Linked DNA regions of Homo sapiens: all the other regions are linked to region 4. Evidence: promoter capture Hi-C in 16 types of primary human blood cells and fetal thymus (Javierre and others, 2016). All regions are on one chromosome and are shown on one strand. The core of a region is centred on a gene start or on the middle of the fragment in contact, and the rest is flanking DNA. Distances in the headings are between cores, read along the strand shown.

Evidence for each region. The method cuts DNA at HindIII sites, captures the fragments that hold promoters and counts their contacts. A CHiCAGO score of 5 or more calls a contact.
Region 1: a fragment that was not itself captured here is called in contact with the fragment with the promoter of DAAM1 in region 4 in 4 of 17 cell types (naive CD8 T cells, total CD8 T cells, fetal thymus and 1 more); the score reaches 6.8 in naive CD8 T cells.
Region 2: a contact is called between a fragment that was not itself captured here and the fragment with the promoter of DAAM1 in region 4, in 2 of 17 cell types (total CD8 T cells and naive CD8 T cells). The highest score is 6.1, in total CD8 T cells.
Region 3: a contact is called between the fragment with the promoter of PSMA3 here and the fragment with the promoter of DAAM1 in region 4, in 4 of 17 cell types (naive CD4 T cells, naive CD8 T cells, total B cells and 1 more). The highest score is 6.3, in naive CD4 T cells.
Region 5: a fragment that was not itself captured here is called in contact with the fragment with the promoter of DAAM1 in region 4 in 1 of 17 cell types (naive CD4 T cells); the score reaches 5.6 in naive CD4 T cells.
Region 6: the fragment with the promoter of ACTR10 here is called in contact with the fragment with the promoter of DAAM1 in region 4 in 9 of 17 cell types (naive CD4 T cells, naive CD8 T cells, non-activated CD4 T cells and 6 more); the score reaches 15.4 in naive CD4 T cells.
Region 7: a fragment that was not itself captured here is called in contact with the fragment with the promoter of DAAM1 in region 4 in 2 of 17 cell types (M2 macrophages and erythroblasts); the score reaches 5.3 in M2 macrophages.

Annotation. Positions count from the first base shown.
Region 1 is chr14:60,088,411-60,091,110 of GRCh38, reverse strand. The region is part of intron 1 of PCNX4-DT (PCNX4 divergent transcript); the gene reads left to right. Among named protein-coding and RNA genes, the nearest start is that of PCNX4-DT, 2.0 kb to the left of the region's middle. The HindIII fragment of the contact is 2,424 bases long and covers 127-2,550 here.
Region 2 is chr14:60,187,177-60,189,876 of GRCh38, reverse strand. No RefSeq gene overlaps it. Among named protein-coding and RNA genes, the nearest start is that of DHRS7, 23 kb to the right of the region's middle. The HindIII fragment of the contact is 2,835 bases long and covers 19-2,700 here.
Region 3 is chr14:58,243,462-58,246,161 of GRCh38, reverse strand. PSMA3 (proteasome 20S subunit alpha 3) reads right to left here and starts at 1,319. Exons shown (of 11, transcript NM_002788.4): 1 at 1,221-1,319. The coding sequence starts at 1,241. RefSeq lists enhancers at 846-1,295, 410-1,307, 1,476-1,675, 1,716-1,765. The HindIII fragment of the contact is 17,362 bases long and covers 1,021-2,700 here.
Region 4 is chr14:59,187,325-59,190,024 of GRCh38, reverse strand. DAAM1 (dishevelled associated activator of morphogenesis 1) reads right to left here and starts at 1,358. Exons shown (of 25, transcript NM_001270520.2): 1 at 1,257-1,358. RefSeq lists enhancers at 206-365, 76-835, 1,616-1,855 and silencers at 726-945, 1,006-1,145. The HindIII fragment of the contact is 5,514 bases long and covers 1-2,700 here.
Region 5 is chr14:58,569,577-58,572,276 of GRCh38, reverse strand. No RefSeq gene overlaps it. Among named protein-coding and RNA genes, the nearest start is that of DACT1, 67 kb to the left of the region's middle. The HindIII fragment of the contact is 3,073 bases long and covers 1-2,700 here.
Region 6 is chr14:58,198,722-58,201,421 of GRCh38, reverse strand. ACTR10 (actin related protein 10) reads right to left here and starts at 1,273. Exons shown (of 13, transcript NM_018477.3): 1 at 1,128-1,273. The coding sequence starts at 1,204. RefSeq lists enhancers at 891-1,080, 1,701-1,830 and a silencer at 1,241-1,630. The HindIII fragment of the contact is 4,366 bases long and covers 915-2,700 here.
Region 7 is chr14:58,470,748-58,473,447 of GRCh38, reverse strand. KIAA0586 reads right to left here. Exons shown (of 31, transcript NM_001329943.3): 18 at 1,169-1,249. Among named protein-coding and RNA genes, the nearest start is that of KIAA0586, 44 kb to the right of the region's middle. The HindIII fragment of the contact is 178 bases long and covers 1,162-1,339 here.

The sequences.
Region 1 (2,700 bases), core at 89-2,588, 900 kb before region 4:
AATTTTTTTTTTTTTTTAATTCTTGGCTCTTGGCTGTCTTGGAAATGCTGACTTTGTATTTAAGTATTTAGGTTTTCAGGTCGTAATAGAAAAATAATTACTGTGTTCATATTAAAAGCCAAAGCTTTATTTATTTATTTTTAAGATATTGTGTCCAGAGCAAAAGTGTAGTGTGTTGAAAGCATGTGGAAGAAAACCCCGGATATACATATACTTGTCTTCAAGGACTTAATTTGCAGGTAGACCCTTTCATAGTTTGGTATCTTCACGATTTGATAGAATATGGGAAAACGTGCTGTTGGTCCATCCATAGTTTTTCTCATTGAAGCTCACTCATTGCGGGTCAGAGTACCACATTAAGCATCTCGGAAGCATCACTTACCGCCAAGAAGTCTGAGTTTCATGTAATTAAGAGTGGAGGCTCCAGAGTCAGGAAGTCTGGGTTGAAACCCTGGCACTACTGCTTACTACTTGTGAGATCTTGAGGTTATGTAATTTCTCTAGTGCTCAGTTTCCCCATATCTTGTAAAATAAGGCAAATAATAGAACTTAACCCGCAGAGAGTTATGTCATTGGATTAAATCAAATAATTGTAAATTGCTTAGCAGAGTAAATGGCACAGCTTAAGTGCTTAGTAAGGATGAGCTATTATCTTTATGTAGAGAGTCTGTATTTATGCTTGTTCTTCTCATGGGCATTACATATGACCCAAGCAGAATTAACATGTTTATTGTTGAAATATCTGCTGTTTTTCAAATATATTTGAACATCGTGCTTTCTTAGAATAAAATTAGTAGGGCATATGGTACAAGCCCTTTGGTTAGCTGTGTATAAAATATTCATTCAACATTTATTGAAATAGTGAAGGGAATAGTGGTTCCTATTTGTCAGGAACTACACTAATTGCTGCAGATATAAAGTCAAATAAAACATGATCCTTAAGGAATTTACCAAAATATAACTTGGACATCAAGGACATAACTTGAACAACAAGGACATCAGTAATTACAGTGTATGTGATAAACAGGTATGCGCTGAGCTTCAGAAACAAAGTGGGACACATAATTCTGGGGAAATTAAGGATGGTTGCAATCCATTTTTAAAGGGTGAGTGGACAGCTGGGCCAGGCGTGGTGGCTCTTGCCTGCAATCCTAGCACTTTGGGAGGCTGAGGTAGGAGGATCGCTTGAGCCTAGGAGTTTGAGGCAACATGGTGAAACCCTGTCTCTACAAAAGATACAAAAAATTAGCCAGGTGTGGTTGTGTGCGCCTGTGGTCCCAGCTACTCAGAGGCTGAGGTAAGAGGTTGTTGCAGTGAGCCGAAATTGCACCACTGCACTCCAGCCTGGACAACAGAGTGAGATCTTGTCTCAAAAAAAAAAAAACAAAACAAAAACAAAAACAGAGTTAGCTGGGAGAAGAGGTATTCCAGGTAGGGGAACATTTATTCTTTAATTCATTCAACACATACTTAGAGCATACATAGAATCAGTACTTTGTGTACCTCATTTAATCTTAACCTTATGAGGTAGCTTATTATTATTTCAAATGTAAGGAATCTGAGCTTGAGAAAAGTAAAATAAGTGATGACATCTGGAGTTGAGTCCGTATCTGTATGTCTTCAAGATTCGTGTATTTTTTCCTACCCTGCTGATTCACATAAAATGAAACAAATTGTGAAAAATCTGGAACTGCTGCTTCAGCCAGAGAAGATGTTTAGCCAGGCATTATCATGACATACGTGTTATTGTGTAATGGTAATGCCCGTTTTCAGTTCATACCCAAGTTAACTTCTCTTGCTAAAAAGTAAAACAAAAGCAAAACCCACACCATAAACCCTCACTCTGCCTTGTTCCCAGAGACCACTGGCCAGAAGTCTCTGAAAATAATGCAGAGCTGCAGCACTAGGTATGGGCCAAAGAGAAGGCAAAATCATGCTCACAGTTCCGGGTGCCTTTAAAGAAACACAGGAGGAATAATAGCTTTGGGAAGAAAGATAATGAATCTACTTTGAGACCTGTGTGTAAGGGGCTGATGCGATATTCAGGTGCCTATGCCCAGTTGGAAATACAGAATTGGACCTATATTACATATTGACCTTGGGAGAGAAGTTAAGATGTAGAATATTCAATAATTTTTTTTAAAAGATTGTTGAAGTAATAAGATTGGAAAAGAATGTCAAGGTTTATATCTTAATGGGACAAGAAGAAAACCGAAGAAGAAAAGGACTATAAAATAAAAAGATTGACTTATATGGCTTATTGAAAGTCACTGTATCATAGATCATGATATGCATCAAACATCATGTGAAAGGACATGTGATGAGTAGAAATTTTAGAGTGTCTGAGCATGTTCGTGAGATTTGGGTTGGGCAAGTTATGAGTTATGAGAATATTAAAGACAGGACGTGCCCAATAGTTAATTACAGTGTTTCATATTGAAACTTTCTTTAATATAGAAACTTTCATATCCCATAAACAATCATAAATAGAACCATCAAATAAACAATATATAATGTAATCATAGCTTTGCGATTGGTTGGTCTCAAGCTTTACTCTAAGATACAATATATTTCTTTTAAATTGCAGTTCTGAAAAATTTACAGTAATTACTGATGGGGAGTGTATGATAAAAGAATAGTTTCAAATTTTGGTTATGATAAAGAATTTTTAGTTTTCTTGTATAGCTCTTAAATTTCACT
Region 2 (2,700 bases), core at 187-2,686, 1.0 Mb before region 4:
ACCTCTGCGAAGGAAGCTTAGACTGGCACCTTAAGCATCACCAGTTGTTCTCTGCTAACACCCTGGTAGGAACCTGGAAAGAAGACATGAAATAGACACAGAAAAAGGAAGAAGGGACTGGAAGAAGGAAGTGACAGTAGCAAAAACAAAAAGCCTGTTTTCTCATTTTTCCCCTAGAGCATTTCATGATTGTAATAATGGGACAAAGGCCTTGTGTTGCTCTATTTATTGTATAATTTTGTTTAACAGATACCTTTTTAGCACTTACTGTGTGTTAGATACCAATCTATGCGCTTTATAAATATTGACTCATTAATTCCTTATAACTACCTTAAGGTATGAACACTTTTATTATCTCCACTGGGTAGTTGAGGAAACAGGCACAAAGAGGTTGAGGTGGAGGGTCTCAAGGTCACAAGCTAGTAAGTGGCAGAGCCAAGATTCTGCATCGAAGTCATTGGGTGCCAGCATCCCAGCTCTCAGCCGCTATACTCTGCTTATATACTAACCATATATGTTTTCAATTCTTTTTGAAAGTGTTGGTATTAGAAAATGTGGATGAGAAGTCAGCTTAATGGTAACATAGCCAGAATTTATAGCCAGAATTTGGCTTTCAGTTGGAGAATTATAATAATGTCTATAGCGGACTGGGAAGGCCGAGTCCTGGAATTCTATTCTTCGTCTGTTTTATGTAGCACTTAGAGAGCTAGAGCAACTCATAACCTCTGTATTCATCTTTGGATGGAGATTTTGAAGTTCATCAGATAAGAATTTTAATTTTCAAATAAAAGAGAAGTTGAACTTTCCCAAAGGGCATTTGGGCATTAGCCCAAAAGTGAAGGAAACTTCACTTTTTGATCATTCAAAAACAGAGAATAATGGGATGGGAGAATAAAGGAGGGGGCTCAAAGTATTTTGTGGAATCTGAAACTCTTCTATGTGGCTTAGATCATGGGAATTTTCTTGGCCTGCGTTGTGAAGGTAGCATGACCCTTTCTCTATGAGGGATGTGAGTTATTCACTATTTCAAACTGTACAATTGCTTCATTATGTCCACACCCACATTTTTCTGTTTATAGCCAAAGAAAAGGCCTGTTGTTGATACTAAATTACCACCTGAAAATAAGAGTATCATAATTCTTAATTAATTCTTATTCTAAAATATCTTACACTGTCTGGGGAACAGTATATTTTATTTGAGATTGAAAAACAATCTTCAATCATCTTTTATATGAGAAAAAGTATTAAATATTTCTAGGTATTAAAAAATCTAGGTATTTAGAGGTATTAAATCTTTAAAAATTTTTAAATAGCCCTTCACAACCATCAAAAATTGTGTTTTACTTTTTAAGATGTTATGCTTTTTTACACATTAGTGAATTTATTCACAGAACCTGGGTTTTAGGCCTTTGAGAGTTATGGAATACCTAAATGGTTATAGGCCATTGTTCAGAAGCCATTGCACTCCGAAGTCTCAATGGAGAGCTATTTTGGTCCCACACAGGACATTTGGCAATGTCTGGAGACATTTTTGATTATCATAACTTGTGATGGTGGGAGGTTGTTACTGACATCTAGTGGGTTAAGTCCAAGGATGCTGCTAAATGTCTTATAATGTACTAGACAGCGCCCACAACCAAGAATTATCTGGCCCAAAATGTTAACAGTGCTGAGTTTGAGAAACCCTGCAATAGAGATTTTCAAAGCCCTATTTGTAGGACTTTTTACATAGACCCTTCGTTTTATGTTGCTTGCTTTACAAGCCCCCTCATTTACACAGCCAGTCCACCTGGGAGTTTACTGGCTCACAAAGGTACCCAGTGGGACTCGATGATCAGAGAGAATCAGGGAAGCTCTATCTCAGGGGTTAAGGGTCCAAACCACACTAAAAACAATTTTTTGAGCTAACTCAGGAAAGTAATCTTTATTTATAACTTAGAAAAAATATTTGCTAAGCATTAGTCTTGAAGTGAACTTTTGGAACACACCTGTCTAAAAACTTGATCCTGCCTGGCTTGTGTTTCTCATTGCAGATCATGGGATAACAGTTGTGTCTGTATTGTTCAGCGCCATGCTCCTCAGCTCCTGGAAATCTTAAAGAATAGTCACTGCCAGTAGGACTTTTTGTTGAAAGAGTACAAAGTACCACAGAGTGGTAGTAGATGATGGACTTTGGATTCAAGTGTCATCACTTTTGGATGTGTGGTCTTCTTTAATGTAATCTTCAAGACGCTCATCTGAAGTATCAATCTTAACACACTTGGTCAAATAATATGAAATGGCTTATCCATATCACATGCTCTCCAATGCCCGGCATACAGTATGTGTTCAATTAACGCCAATTCTCTTCTCCCTGCTTATCTGTCTTAGGTAGAACTCTTCCCTTCCTTTCCTAGCTCATAAAAATAAAACTTAGGTTCTTTTGCAAGTATTCGGAAGGGAAGTTCTGGCCTTACTTCCATCTATGATGTTCCTCTACAAGGGAGTAGAAAAGATTCATTTGATTGGTGAGATTTGGGGAAAAGAACCCCATGAGTTCACATGGAGCTTTTGTACAGATGACACAAAAGTGCTCCCTCTGGGTGGACACAGCCCTCTGTCCACAAGGCTTGATGGACGGATGGTATCTTTATGTAACATGGATTCAAACCAGTGAGTATAGCTTGGCTAGTGAAATGTGGACTGGATTTCAATCCCCAC
Region 3 (2,700 bases), core at 70-2,569, 940 kb after region 4:
GAGAAATGAAGACAGAAGAAAAGCCTTCAGCAGTGGTACTTTCTGAGTCTGTTTCCTGATCTGTTAAACCCAGATCATTAACCCTACCATTGTTACTAAAATATCCCACATGGTTACATTATCAAGTATTCTTTAAAAGGTTTGTAGAATGAAATACTATTAATTCAAGGTAATATTAATATAATTGCAAAGTCAGTTTGCTACAAGATTTAATATTGAGCATTTACTTATCCAAGAAAAGTATGGCAGAACTTTAGCATTCATAACTGAATGGATTAAACCATTCCAGACATAAGTTGCCTATTATCAAATTTAGAACACCGGTACTTGAACTTAAGGCTGAGCATGAGAATCTTGTTAAGAAGTAGAAATTGAGGAACTGAGAAACTCATTATTCAATAACTCTAGTGCAAATAACCAATAAATCTTTTAGAAACTGTATTTTCTATATAGAGAAGTACATAAAAGGAGTAAACTGACTGCACATATGCAATACGTTTAACAAAGGAAAGCCAAACAAGTTAACAAGTCCCACTGCAAAATCCTCAACAGTCTATGAAAAGTCTGAAGCTGTTAAGTTCCTAAGTAACCATTTAAACGTTTACGGAATAAATGCCTACAAGCGCTGTTAGGTAATTTGTATAGGAAAAACGAGAAAGGAAAAACTGAAGGATTCATCAGATTGTTTTTCAGACCATTTTTATTAGTTCTGTTCCGACAGGATTTCCAGTGACTCTTAAACTGAGCGGTCAATGATCTGCACACTTAAAGACAGAGAAGGCCTGTGAATCAGCAGCACCCTAGGAACTGCAAACGCAGTCCACAAAAAGCACGATCTCCAGACCCCGGAATCCCAAATCTCACTGCCTCGGTGGTTCTCAAGAGAACACACTATTTCAAGCCCCACGAGTTTCCACTTTCGGTTTCCCTAAGTGGCTGAAGAAAGTGACTCAGCAATCCAAAGCGGCTCCAAACCTCACTGCGGCGACGCCAAGCCGGCTACACCTGCGCTGAAAAGCTTCAGGAGTCACGGTCACCTGAGACGCAGGCCTAGCATATAGGGGATAAAGACGACCGGTCTCCAAACAGCTGCAAATGGCCCACCCAGCCGAAGGCGGTCTCAGAGCACCCCGGGTCCGCGAACCCCATGTGGTCTGTCCGAGTTCCCTTCAACCCCAATCCTTAGGTTAAACTATTACACCGACAGACAGCGAACTCACCCCAGTGCCGATTGAGCTCATCGTGCTAAACCCAAAGGGACGCGTAGGGATTCCAGGCCCGGAGCGCTTCCCCTATACCACAGGATGCCGCAAACTAGTAACAGGCCCGCTCATTGGCTGAACTGCCAACCAATAACCTTTTTCTCTGTGGCTCGTTCCGCGGCTCCGGCCCCCAGGACGAGGAGTATTGTGGGAAAAAAGCGGGCCGCGAGAGGCTGGCGGCGCGCATGTGCAGAAGCAATGGAGGCGGGGTTGGGGAAAGCAAAGGCTCCTCCTTCGGTTCGCGTACTTTGAGCCGCTTGGCGTCGTGGTATCTGAGAAGCTGCTCTATTCCTTTCCTTGGAATTATTATTTATCTTTTATATTATTATTCTCTCCTCACTTTATTCTTTCTTTAAGCCAAAGGGAGAGATGCTGGTATACTCTCACAAAAAGTAGAAAAAGCAGTAGGCGCGAAGTAACCTGTCTTCCTCCGCGTCCCGACCCTGACCCAGAATCTTGATGGCATCCACTTCACCTCCTTGTGCTCAGGCTCTCGTGAAGTTTCACTTAAAGGGTATCGTCTTTGAATTCAGCTTAGAATTTTACGGAAGTATTAGTGCTCTTTCTATGAGTATAACGCTTTTTGGTAAGAGTTAAAGATAAGTCTGATTAAAGATATTTTTTGAGCGCTAGTATATTCCACGTGTTCAAGAAAAAGCCGTGAACAGAGCATACCCCCATTTCTAATGTAATTTCCATTCAGTGGGAATAAATAGGTAACAATAAATAAGCAAAATAGTAAGAAGAAAGAGTGCTTTAATAGACAATGGAGGTACTAACTTTAGGCAGTGTGCTCAGGGAATGACTTTCTGAGTGAGTGATATTTAAACTAAAATAGGGTAACAAAAGACAGTGGTTTAGGGAACAGTAAAAAACTTGGCTTGCGCTGGGAACTGTCACGTCAGAGTGACCTCTCATAATGATTAAGTGGGGAAGAATGACAGGAAGAGAACAAGTGCACAGGAGACCAAATCTTGAAGTGGTTTGAATTTTAATCCGATTGTAAATAGGGCATCAGCATTTTTTTTACTCCTAAATATTAATACGTCAGTGTGTATTTTCCCCCAACACAGGAACATTATTTCACAGAGACACAGTATTATTGTGAAAATCAGAAAATTACCAATACTATGATCTATCAACTTTATGCATTTTTTTTTTTTTTTTGGTAAATGGCCCAATAATGTCCTTCATAGCAAAAGAAAATCCAAGATCACACCTTGCATTCAGTTGTCATGTTTCCAATCTGCTTTAGTCTGGAAAATAGTTGCTTAGTATTTCTTCAGTTTTCATGGCATGAACACTTTTGAAGAATACAAACCATTTATTTTGTAGAATATTCCTTAATTTAGGTTTGATTTTTTTGTTATTTGATTCAAGTGATGCATTTATGGCAGGAATACTACAGAAATGACCTTGTATTCATTCATGTCAGAGC
Region 4 (2,700 bases), core at 109-2,608:
ATTCATCTTGCAGGCAACTCCGCTTCGATTCACTGGGTCCTGCTCGAATCTCAAGAAACTACCAGCAAAACGGTCACGGTGGCATTTGCTCTTGATGCTCTCCAGAAAGTGGAGATGAAGGAGAGGGGAATGGAGTTCAGGCATCACTAAATATGTTATGGGGCGAGAGGTAGCTCCGCAAAGCCAGGCCGTGAACAACTTGAGACCTTAGCAGGGTTTGATGAATGAGTAAACGAACAAATGAAGGTACTAGGAAAGGCAAAGAACATCCAGAGGACTGAGAGCTCTGGGCCTCCTGCACGTCTCCACTCAGAGGGCAAGCCGATCACAAGCAGTTGGCTTTCAGAACCAGCTGGGTAAACCCGATTATCCAGCCCTCCTGCCCCACAGCGAGCCTAATCATTAGATTATCCGACACCTCCACCCCCGCGCTACCACCTCCTGGCCCAGGGCTTCAGGGCAGGCGCTTCGCCCCAGCCCAGGTGCTCTACACCAAGGGACCGTGGAGACTGAGATGCGCCCTCCCGAGAGGGACGGGCGGCAAAAGCCCTCTGCGGTGCCTCACAACCGGGTCCGCAGGCGGCGCAGCCTCCCCGGCCGCCAACACCCTGCTCTCCCTCCGCAACGCCCGATTTCCCTTCTCTCTGTTTTGAAACATTTAGGTCCAACTTAGTCTGAATTACAGGCGCTCCGTCCCTTTCGAATGGGGCTGGAAGTGAGGGTGCCAGGGGCACTGGGGGCTCTGCTCGGACGCGAACGGGTACACGAGTCCCTCCTTCCCTGTCGCCACCGCCGTGTCCACCAAGCCTGCCTCGGGGTTCTCCCTCTCGGAGCCGCCGGGCCGGGAGCTCGCGGACGCCGCTGCAGTACCCGCGGCCCCAGCCCCGGGGAGCCTTCAGCAAGGCGGCGAGTGTTACCCCGCCAGCTCCTCGGCCAGCCGGGCGCCTTAGAAAGAAAGGGAGGGACCCCAGTCCTTGGGGGCGTCTTCCTCCCTGCTGCCTCGGTTTGCGTTGCGCTGCAGCCATTTTCCCACCCCCAGCTAGGCAGCCGAGAGCTGTCTCGGTCCCGTTCCCACCCAGACCCAACCTGAAGGACGGGTTTAATATTTACCTACTGGCCCGGGAGCTCCGGGGAGGCAGCAGGAGGGCGCGCCGCGAACCCAGCGCCCAGCCCACGGAAGCACGCCCACCCCCGCACCACTGAGCAGTGCCACTTAATGAATGAGTGCGGCGGGCAAGGAGGAGCGTCCCCCTTACCTGAGCAGCCCCTGCATGCTGGAAAGGCGGCTCTGCACTCTGGGTACAATGGGATCCGGTTAAACAGTTTCCTTCACAGCCGCTCGTAGGTTACTAACTCGCAGGTGACATCACCCTCTCCTCGCCTGATAGGATACAAAGTGGCTCCCACTGCGCATGGACGCTCCGGTCGGGCGCGCAGACTCCTGGGAGTAGTGGTCCCAATCTATTAGCGGAGCCGGGACAGCTTTGCTGTCGGGACTCGCGGAACTACATCTCCCGACACACTCCTCCGCCCTTCTGCCCCGCCTCTTATTCCCGCCCCCTTCAGGACCCGCCCCCTCCCAGCCTTACAGCCTTGCAGTGTTAGCGGTGGTCGTTCCGAAGCCGAGCTGCGGACCGCACGGGAGAGTGGGAGGGCTGCCCTGCGGTCGTGTGTGTTGACTTGACCTCTACTTTGCCCGGCGCGGGCTCTGAAGGATCGGAGAGGTCCGGGGCTCGCGTGGTCCGGCCAGGCTCGCTCTAACTGGTCTTTCTTGGTCCCTGCTGGGAAGGGACGATTAAGACTTTTCTGCCTTCCCCAGGCGTAGCAGCTAATTCAGAGGGCTTACTGTTTTCTGGGTTAAATACGGTCCTCGAATTCTCCCCGCTCAACACTTCCAGAGGATGGGGCGACGCCGGTCCCAAGGCGGAGGAATCTCCTTGTACCCCCTCAATTCACCTTTCTCTTTTCTGCTTCCCGTTTAACGGAGACAAGGTGACCAGGCAGAACGCGGGGAACCACTTAGTCGGCTGAGCTGACAGAATAACGGAGGTTGTCACTACCAGAAGTGCGGTGTGATAGACTAGACAGTCGCCGCAACCCTCCGTCAGGGCGCCTGCTGCTGCTGCAAAGATAATACTATCGTGCAGCCATGCTTTTGTTCATCCCTGCAGCAGACTTCCCGCGCTGGTGGCTCTCCACTCCCAGGAAGAAAACGTCCTTGTCTAAAGTTTTAATAATTGTGTATCTATGTATACACATGTTTTTAAATCCACAACACTCTCACCTCATTTTCCATACCTTTTCAAATATTTTTATAAAGACATTAAACCAAACAACATCGTGCCGTTCAAGAATTGCCCTGCTCTTAACACACCTAAATATTTATTTAAAGGTAAGCAAAAGGTGTGTAGCAGAATTCTGACCCTTTAGGCAGGTTGTATTGTTAATACATAATTTTTTCCGTGGCATTTTTCATTATTCAGTGAATACCAAGTGTCTTTTAATATGAAAAGAATCAATGCATTTAGTTACTCGAGTTGTAAATGTAAATTTTAATGGCATTTGATGTGTCTCAATTCCATATAATGATCAGCTCACACACCCGTTCCACTAGCAAAATCTCTAGAAGACTGTGCATCTTGTGAAAAAAAGGTTCACAATTAAGATTTCAGACAACTCCCTACTGAAGTGTTGGTGGAA
Region 5 (2,700 bases), core at 54-2,553, 620 kb after region 4:
CAAGCTCCAGAATATACAGAGTAAGACATTCAGCTAAGTAGGCTCTGTAGGCCCCGCTGCATGGCACCACCCCCTCTACCCCGAGGTTTCCATTACCCACAGGCTTTGATCTGGTAAACAAATCTGCCTCCAATCATGTGGCAAAGGTTGCCGTTCTCTCACTCTCCTCCCTGTGCTAGGGAAAACTGAACAGTTAACAAATAGAAAGCGTTCTGTGTCAGTTCATTATTTTGTACCTGATTTGGAAAGACGGAAAAACAGCCTTTTCAAGCAGTATCTTTTGCCAATTTCCTCTCTTCCCTTCCCCCAGAACCTAAACCCTGGGATTCTCCCTAGGAATTTTATAGAAACCAGCCTGTCTGGAATATTCTGCTGACAGAAAGTCAGGAATTGATGCCAGCCGGAGAAAACACAACTTCTGCCACCTCTGTAATTCCAGAAAAGCCTTGCCTTCCCTGCAGCATACACTATAGCCAGGCCTTGCCTCATTTGGCTTTGTAGCCTCAGCACCTAAGTATCCAGAACACAGTGCCCAATACATGCTTGTCACATTGAATTAATTGTATTAAAGTCAGTTGATCTCTCTTAATCTCATTTAAAGATGGGAAGTGCCACACATCCCACCAAGGGGGAGGGAAAGGTGCAAGGATAAGTGAGCGTTTTCTCTTGGACGAGAAGTGGGCAATGTGGGAGAGAGCCCTGCCAGAGACATTTAAAATTGGCCCAGTGGCCAGTTGTAGTGGCTCACGCTTGTAATTCCTAGCACTTTGGGAGGCTGAGGTGGAAGGATCGCCTGAGGCCAGGAGTTCCAACCAGCCTGGGCAACATAGGGAGACCCCTGTCTCTACAGAAAAGTTTAAAACATTATCTAGGTATGGTGGCACATACCTGTGGTCCCAGCTACTTGGGAGAGTGAGGCGGGAGGATTGCATGAGTCCAAGGTGGGGGTCGAGGCTGCAGTGAGCTATGATTACACCACTGCACTCTAGCCTAAGCAACAGAGCGAGATCCTGTCTAAAAAAGAAAAGAAAGAAAGAAAAAGAAAATGGGAATAACTACATCTAATTCACAGTGTGATTATAAAGATGGAATTTGATCTTTCTAAAAAAAAAAAAAAACCCAAAGAAAAAATTGTATGGGTTCCTATGTCCCAAAGGATAAATAAAGTGAAATTTCTTGCAGTTAAGTGTCAGAGAGGCTTTGGAGCTTATTACTTGGGTGCTGTTGAGTAGGTTATTTCATCTGAGTTTCAGTTTCTTCATTTGTAAAATTAGGATAATAATATCTACTTTGGAGGGTTGTGGTGAATACAAAATGAACAGACATGTAAAGTTCTCGGCATAAGCATTGTATGTACTAAGTATTCCATAAATGCTAGCTATTAGTGTTATGAACATAGCCTGTACATTGCAGGCACATGACTAAAACTAAATAACTGTTTGGTGAGTGAATAAATGAATGAATGAACATAGCTGTGTCAGTAGGGAGTGTATGTGGCTACATGTAATAGAAACCCCACTACAGTGACCAAACCAAAAGCTGGGTTTTTTTGTCATGTAATAAGAAGTCCAGGTTTGGGCAACCCAGGGCTGGCACACTCCTCAAGGAAGTCATCGGGTACCCAAGCTCCTTCTTACATGTGGTCCTCAACCTCAGATCTGCAAGACATTCTGCTTCCTGTGCTCCATTTAGGAGCTTCGGTTGCCTCATCTGTAAAATGGGAATAGGCTGAAACCCTTTTTGGTGAACCATTCTATGATTCTCCAATAAACTCAGTACCAAATAAGCACTGCTCATTTGGGATCATGCCATTTGGAGATAGCTTATTTTATATCCGATAAATAAGCCACCAAGTCTCAATCCCACTCACGCCCATCATTCAAAAAAATTATAAAAATATTTGGCAACATGAAGAAATACTTATAAAAATATTAAATGAAGGCCGGGTGCAGTGGCTCACATCTGTAATCCCAGCACTTTGGGAGGCCTAGGCAGGCGGATCACGAGGTCAGGAGATCGAGACCATCCTGGCTAACATGGTGAAACCCCATCTCTACTAAAAATACAAAAAATTAGCTGGGTGTGGCGGCGGGCGCCTGTAGTCCCAGCTACTCGTAAGGCTGAGGCAGGAGAATGGCGTGAAGCCGGGAGGCGGAGCTTGCAGTGAGCGGAGATCGCGCCACTGCACTCCAGCCTGGGCAACAGAGCCAGACTCTGTCTCAAAGAAAAAAAAATTAAATGAAAAAAAGCACACTATAACATTTGGTCCAGGTACTGACAAGGAAAGTTCTAAGACATGTTAAGAGAATAAAAGGAAGTCACAGACAACACTTACAGTTGATTTCACTTTTGAAAAAAACAAAATGATAACAAAACTAAAACTGATTTGGATGAGGTAATGAAGACTTTCACTTTTAGCTCTATAGACTTCTATTGTTTTGAATTTTTACAGGACATATATATTCATGCATTGCTTATCTAATAAAATCAATCTAAATATTATACCTATGTAATAATGTAATTATATAAAACCATGCACAGCATAAATCTTGGGGAGGATTATAGGACAATAAAACTGTGTGTGTCAGGCTGGTGAAATTATAGAAAAATTCCTTGTTTGTGCTATTGTTATATTATATGTGTAAGAAATATAATTTTTCCCCACAAGTTGTTCACATGAGGCACAGGTAGATTTCTAAA
Region 6 (2,700 bases), core at 24-2,523, 990 kb after region 4:
TTATCATCCTCCTGCTGTCTTTTTCAAATATAGCTTTTTGCTTATTTCTTCCAAGTACAGCCAAAATAATTATCTTTGACTAGAAGCCTCGAACTGTTTATTACGCTTTCAAAATAATTTTAATAAGAAAATATAAATAAGGAAGGGCCTCGCATAGAACAATAAGAGAATGTCATTAACCAAGGACTATGTTTAATCCAATTCTGGAGTTCCTGGGGTCCAATTTTTAAATAGGCTCTTTTAACCACTTAGTCAATAAATAGTTATTAAATACCTACTACACGTCAGGAAGTGCCTAGAGATATAAAAAGATTTTTCAAATGTTTCATTTTCATAAATACATATATGATGTAATTGCCTGTTACTTCCCTCTCTGTTGAGCCCATCACAAGGACTCTTAATCTAGGGTCCCAGGACCACATTGATTGTCTGCCAATTCCCTGAAACTGTGTATAAGTACCTTAAGATTTGTGCATTTGTGGTTTTCATCCAGCCATTAAAGAGATCTATGCCATCCGAAAGGTTGAGAACCTCCTCTCTATTGTTTACAAGTTGGTTTGTTTAAAACATGTCAAATCTAACCTTCGAGTTTAGGGGAGCCAACAAAGGATTTCCAGAATCTTATCTATAGGGTTTCACCTCTTAATGTGCCCAGTCTCCCTAATTCTTGAGCAGCGATAGCCCTGTCTTAAACATCTTTCCATTTTCAGCACCAAAATAAACTCCGTTCAATATTTTATGATGAAATTCGTCATCGAGCATTTACATTCGGTTGGCTGCCTTCCTCAACTGAGGAGCCCAGGGTAAGCGGGGTCTAGGTCACGGTTGTCATCCCCTACACAGATGATCCCAAAGGGTTTGTTGGGTTTGGGGTGATGACAAGGGGCGGCGACGAGGGCAATTCAACAGAAGCTTTCTGGGCCTCTCTGGGAGTCAGACCCCGATCCTCGGATTCGCATCGCCCAGGGAGGAAATAATAAGAGCTGTTATTTGCAAGGGCGCTGGTTGAAGAAAAGGGGAGGCCCGGAGCTGCCCAGCGAGTCGGCGATGAGGACCCAGGCAGTGCCTGGGGCTCTGCCACCCGCCCTCCCCTCGGGTCGAACACAGCTGGCGTCACGGCCACTCACTTGGTAAAGGCCTCTCCCAGGTCGATCACGACCGCCGTCTTCTCCCCGCCGCTCCCCAGGCCCTCGTAGAGCGGCATGGTAGTAAGGCAGACTGAGAGAAGAGGGTCGCAGTCTCCGCGGCCAACAAGTCTCGGCGCTCGCGGGGCGGGGCCGGGGCTCCGGCGCTCGGGCGTCGGCGACGGCGGGGGCCTCGCGCGGCCGCGGCGCGCCGGGCCCGGGCTGTCCCAGGCTGTGCCTCATTCCGCGTTGGACCCACCCTTGCAGGTGCTGCCGTCGCCAGGACTAGGGGAAAAGAGGCGCTGGCGGGCGCGAATCCGAGTGCGGGGGCGCGGAGGCCGCGGCGATCAGGCGCGCCGGTCGCCCTGAGGGGGCGGAGCCGGCCTCCCTATCCTTCCCTCCCACCACGCCCCAAAGCCGCACCCACGCGCGGCTGTGAAGAGGTTCGGTCTCAGCTCACTGTGAAGAGGTCACTGAGGACCTGGCTGCCAAGGGGCAGCCGAGAGACGACGCAATTCCGAACCTTTGATTCATGCTCTTGGGGGGCAGAAGATGCTGAGACCCTATTCTGTGCTAGGCGTTTTGCCTAATATTTAATCTTCTCAAGAAATAACAAGAATATGTGTTTTCTTATCTGTGGGGACCGACGCTCAGAGAGATTAACTTTCCCAATGTCCCACGGCAGAGCCAGGAACAAACCCACAGACTTCCTAATTGCAAAGCCTATGCTAATGATGCTTTAGAGAATAATACGTACAGACAATACTTTAGTTAGTAGTCTTTCTGAAAGTTTTTATTTTACTCCAGAATTAAGCAGCTAGAGTAGCGTCTGTGAATCTTGAATCTGTCCATAGAGGAGCGGTCGGGATGGTTTAATAGAAGAAACATTGAAGCAAAGGCCCCTATTAGGTTGGTGCAAAAGTAATTGCTGTTTTTGCCACTACTTTTAACATTTACATTACTGTTTACATCTTTGTCACTTCACAGCTTTCTGTGAAAATATTTTTTTCCTGCAAATATTAGCTCTAACTGTATCTATGCATAGGAGTGGAAAAGACTGTCAAAGGAGAGGCTGTGCAATAAGAAAAGAGGTTCAAGGGTAAATCGGTGAGGACTAGCAACATTTAGCTGGTGTACTGGGTTGAATGATGCCCCCCCCCCCAAAATTCTTGTCCACTGGGAACCTCAGAATGTGACCCTATTTGGAAATAGAGTCTTGGCAGATGTAATCAAGTTAAGATGAGGTTATACTGTATTAAGATGTCCCAACTGTCCGAGCGCAGGATCACACCTGTAATCCCAGCACTTTGGGAGGCCGAAGCGGGAGGATCCCTTGAGCCCAAGAAGTCTAAAGCGGCAGTGAGTCGGGATTGTGCCGCTGCACTCCAGCCTGGGCAACAACAAGAGTGAGAGCCTGTCTCTCAAAAAAAAAAAAAAAAAAAAAAAAGGCCCTACTCTAATGGTTGGTAACTAGAGTTAGCGGGGTAGTTGGGGATAAGCTATTTCCATAACAAAAACTAAGGCTGTAACAATGCAGAAATTTGGAATGTGATATTAGTAAAATTCATGTTTAAGT
Region 7 (2,700 bases), core at 1-2,500, 720 kb after region 4:
TATTTCTGGAATTGTTAAAGTTTTTATTACAAAAAAATCATATGTGTTTAAAAGTAAACAAATAGTGTCCTTGTACTGTATCTGTTACATAAATAACATGAATTGCATTTATCCGCTCCCCAGCTTTAACAATTATCAACTTATGGTCAATCTTGTCTCATCTAGCCACTTTCCCCTTCACATATCATTTTGAAGCAAATCACAGATATCACATCATTTTATCTATAAATAATTCAATCAAAAACACTTTGGGTCTCTCTAAATAGTACAACTCAGTAATATTATTCCATTGAAAAATGAAGTCCACAGCTTATAAATGGCAGAGCTAATACAGGAACACTTGTCTTTGAATGCTAAATTCTCTGCTACTTCTATAACCATTTCTTTCGCTTGTATATTGCATAAACAATTACCAAGTACCTTTGCTAGGCATTAGGAATATAAAAATAAATAAGGTCCCTGTCTTCAAAATTCTCATGTGGCACTCACATGAGAAAAGACATATCTGTGAGCGAATAACATTAATATACTGCACACCTCTGTATATTCTAAAATTGGATTTCATTTTATGATTAACAAAACTGATCTTAGCTCTAAAAGTCAAAGAAACTTGATCAAATGTGTTCTTTAAAGTCTAATGACATAATGGTCAAGTAGTTTCAATGTTCTATGATCTTTTGTCCCATCCTTTATAATTTACTTCCACCTATTTTTCCCTCTATTTCATTATTTCTATCATTTCTATAACTCTTCCTTCCATATGGGATATTCCTTTGGATTATAGATTTCTCACAACTTTTTTCTCAATATCAATTAACTAGTCACCTCACCATGAATCCAAAAACCAAAATTAACAGAAAGAAAAAAAGACAAATTGGAGGAAAAGAAGCCAAAGGAAGTGGAAAGAAAGAAGAAAGCAGGAAACAGATAGACAAAATCTAGGTGGGGAACGGCAGATAATCATGAAGCTTCATGAAGGCAGATAGGTGATATAGATTAAAGACATTCTAGAATAACAACTTTATAATTTTTAAAAGTATATTTAACTCAAAAGTAAAAGAAAGTATCTCAAAGCACTGTAACATAATATTGATAGTCCAAAGATAGTCAACAACCTGGAAAAATACCGGTAGAAAAATAATTTCTCATGGTTTCTAAGCTTTGTTACCTGTATGACATCGATTATTTCATCAAAGTTAGTTCCTGGAAACTTCACCTCTTCTTCATCTACCTTCATAATTTCTGGAGTCTAAGAAAGCATTTTCAGAAAGTTTTTGTTGTGCTTAACACTTTTAAAATTTATAAGTAATTTATCATATTTCCACCTATAGTATAAGCTTATAATTACATGGTCCTTTTTAATCATTTTAATACCCTATTCAGAATTGATTTAATTAGTAAATGAAATCCAAGCTAGTCCCCAAGCCATTAGGTCAACATTTCAATAGCTTTAAAAAATTAATCAGCTGTTTTTCTGTAAAGGACTCCATCAGCAATATCACTTAATTGATCAACAGGTTGATATAATTGAGACTTCTCTTCCAGAATTAAGATAAAGGAAAGTGTTTACATGTGTAGATCTCTAAGTATAAACATATATGAACTCACATGAAGATGGATACAGAATCAAATAATTCAGGAAAAAAAACAAAATAGTCATTTTACAAATCTAATCATTAGGCCTCATTATATAAAATGTAGTCATGCAATAGCCTCTTACTGACAGCAGAATGATAAACAGTCCAAAAATTTATTGCTTGTTATCACAGAAGTTTCAATAAACAGAAGGTTAAAAAAAAATACTGATGAAAAAATTCAATTAAGCACAAATGTCACTTACGGACAGTTCTATTTCATTACTTATGATCATGAAAGATTGCTGGTATTCTCTCTCCTTTTAAAACTGTACCCTTGGCCAAGTTTGCTTACAATAAACAAAACCTGGGGTAAGTTACAGTGCTATTTTGCTGTGTAGTAAAGCCATAACTTCATTATTCAAAAGCAAATAAATGCCAGGAAGAAATGCATATTTTTGTATCATGTCAACAGTGGGATAACAAGGTAACATTCCAAAATATAAACTCCCAACTGTCACTATAAAATTCATTTAGGATATCTATAATTCCCATGTAAATCAAAGATTCATCACCAAAGTGACAGAAATTCTTTCTTCACATGAGAGTTTCACAACTTAAATTACCAAAAAGTTACACTAAAGATTATCACTTTCCAAATAGTTATAAATGTAAGGATCTGAAACAAACTTTCAAGTTCATAAACAATTCAAAATTTGTTTTGGGCTGGCGTGGTGGCTCACGCCTGTAATTCCCGAACTTGGGAGGCCGAGGTAGAGGGATCACTTGGAGTCAGGAGTTCAAGATCAGCCTGGCCAGCATGGTGAAACCCCATCTCTACTAAAAATACAAAAATTAGCCGGGCGTGGTGGCAGGCACCTGTAATCCCAGCTACTCAGGAGGCTGAGGCAGGAGAATTGGTTGAACCCGGGAGGCGGAGGTTGCAGTGAGCTGAGATCACACCACTGCACTCCAGCCTGGGCGACAGAGCAAGACTCTGACTGAAAAAAAAAAAATTGTTTTCAATCTTTTCTTCAAAATCTAAATTATTATAAGTTATCATTATGATAAAAGGCTTTAAATGGAGTAATTAGTTAAAATCTACAGTCAGACATTACTCAAAATA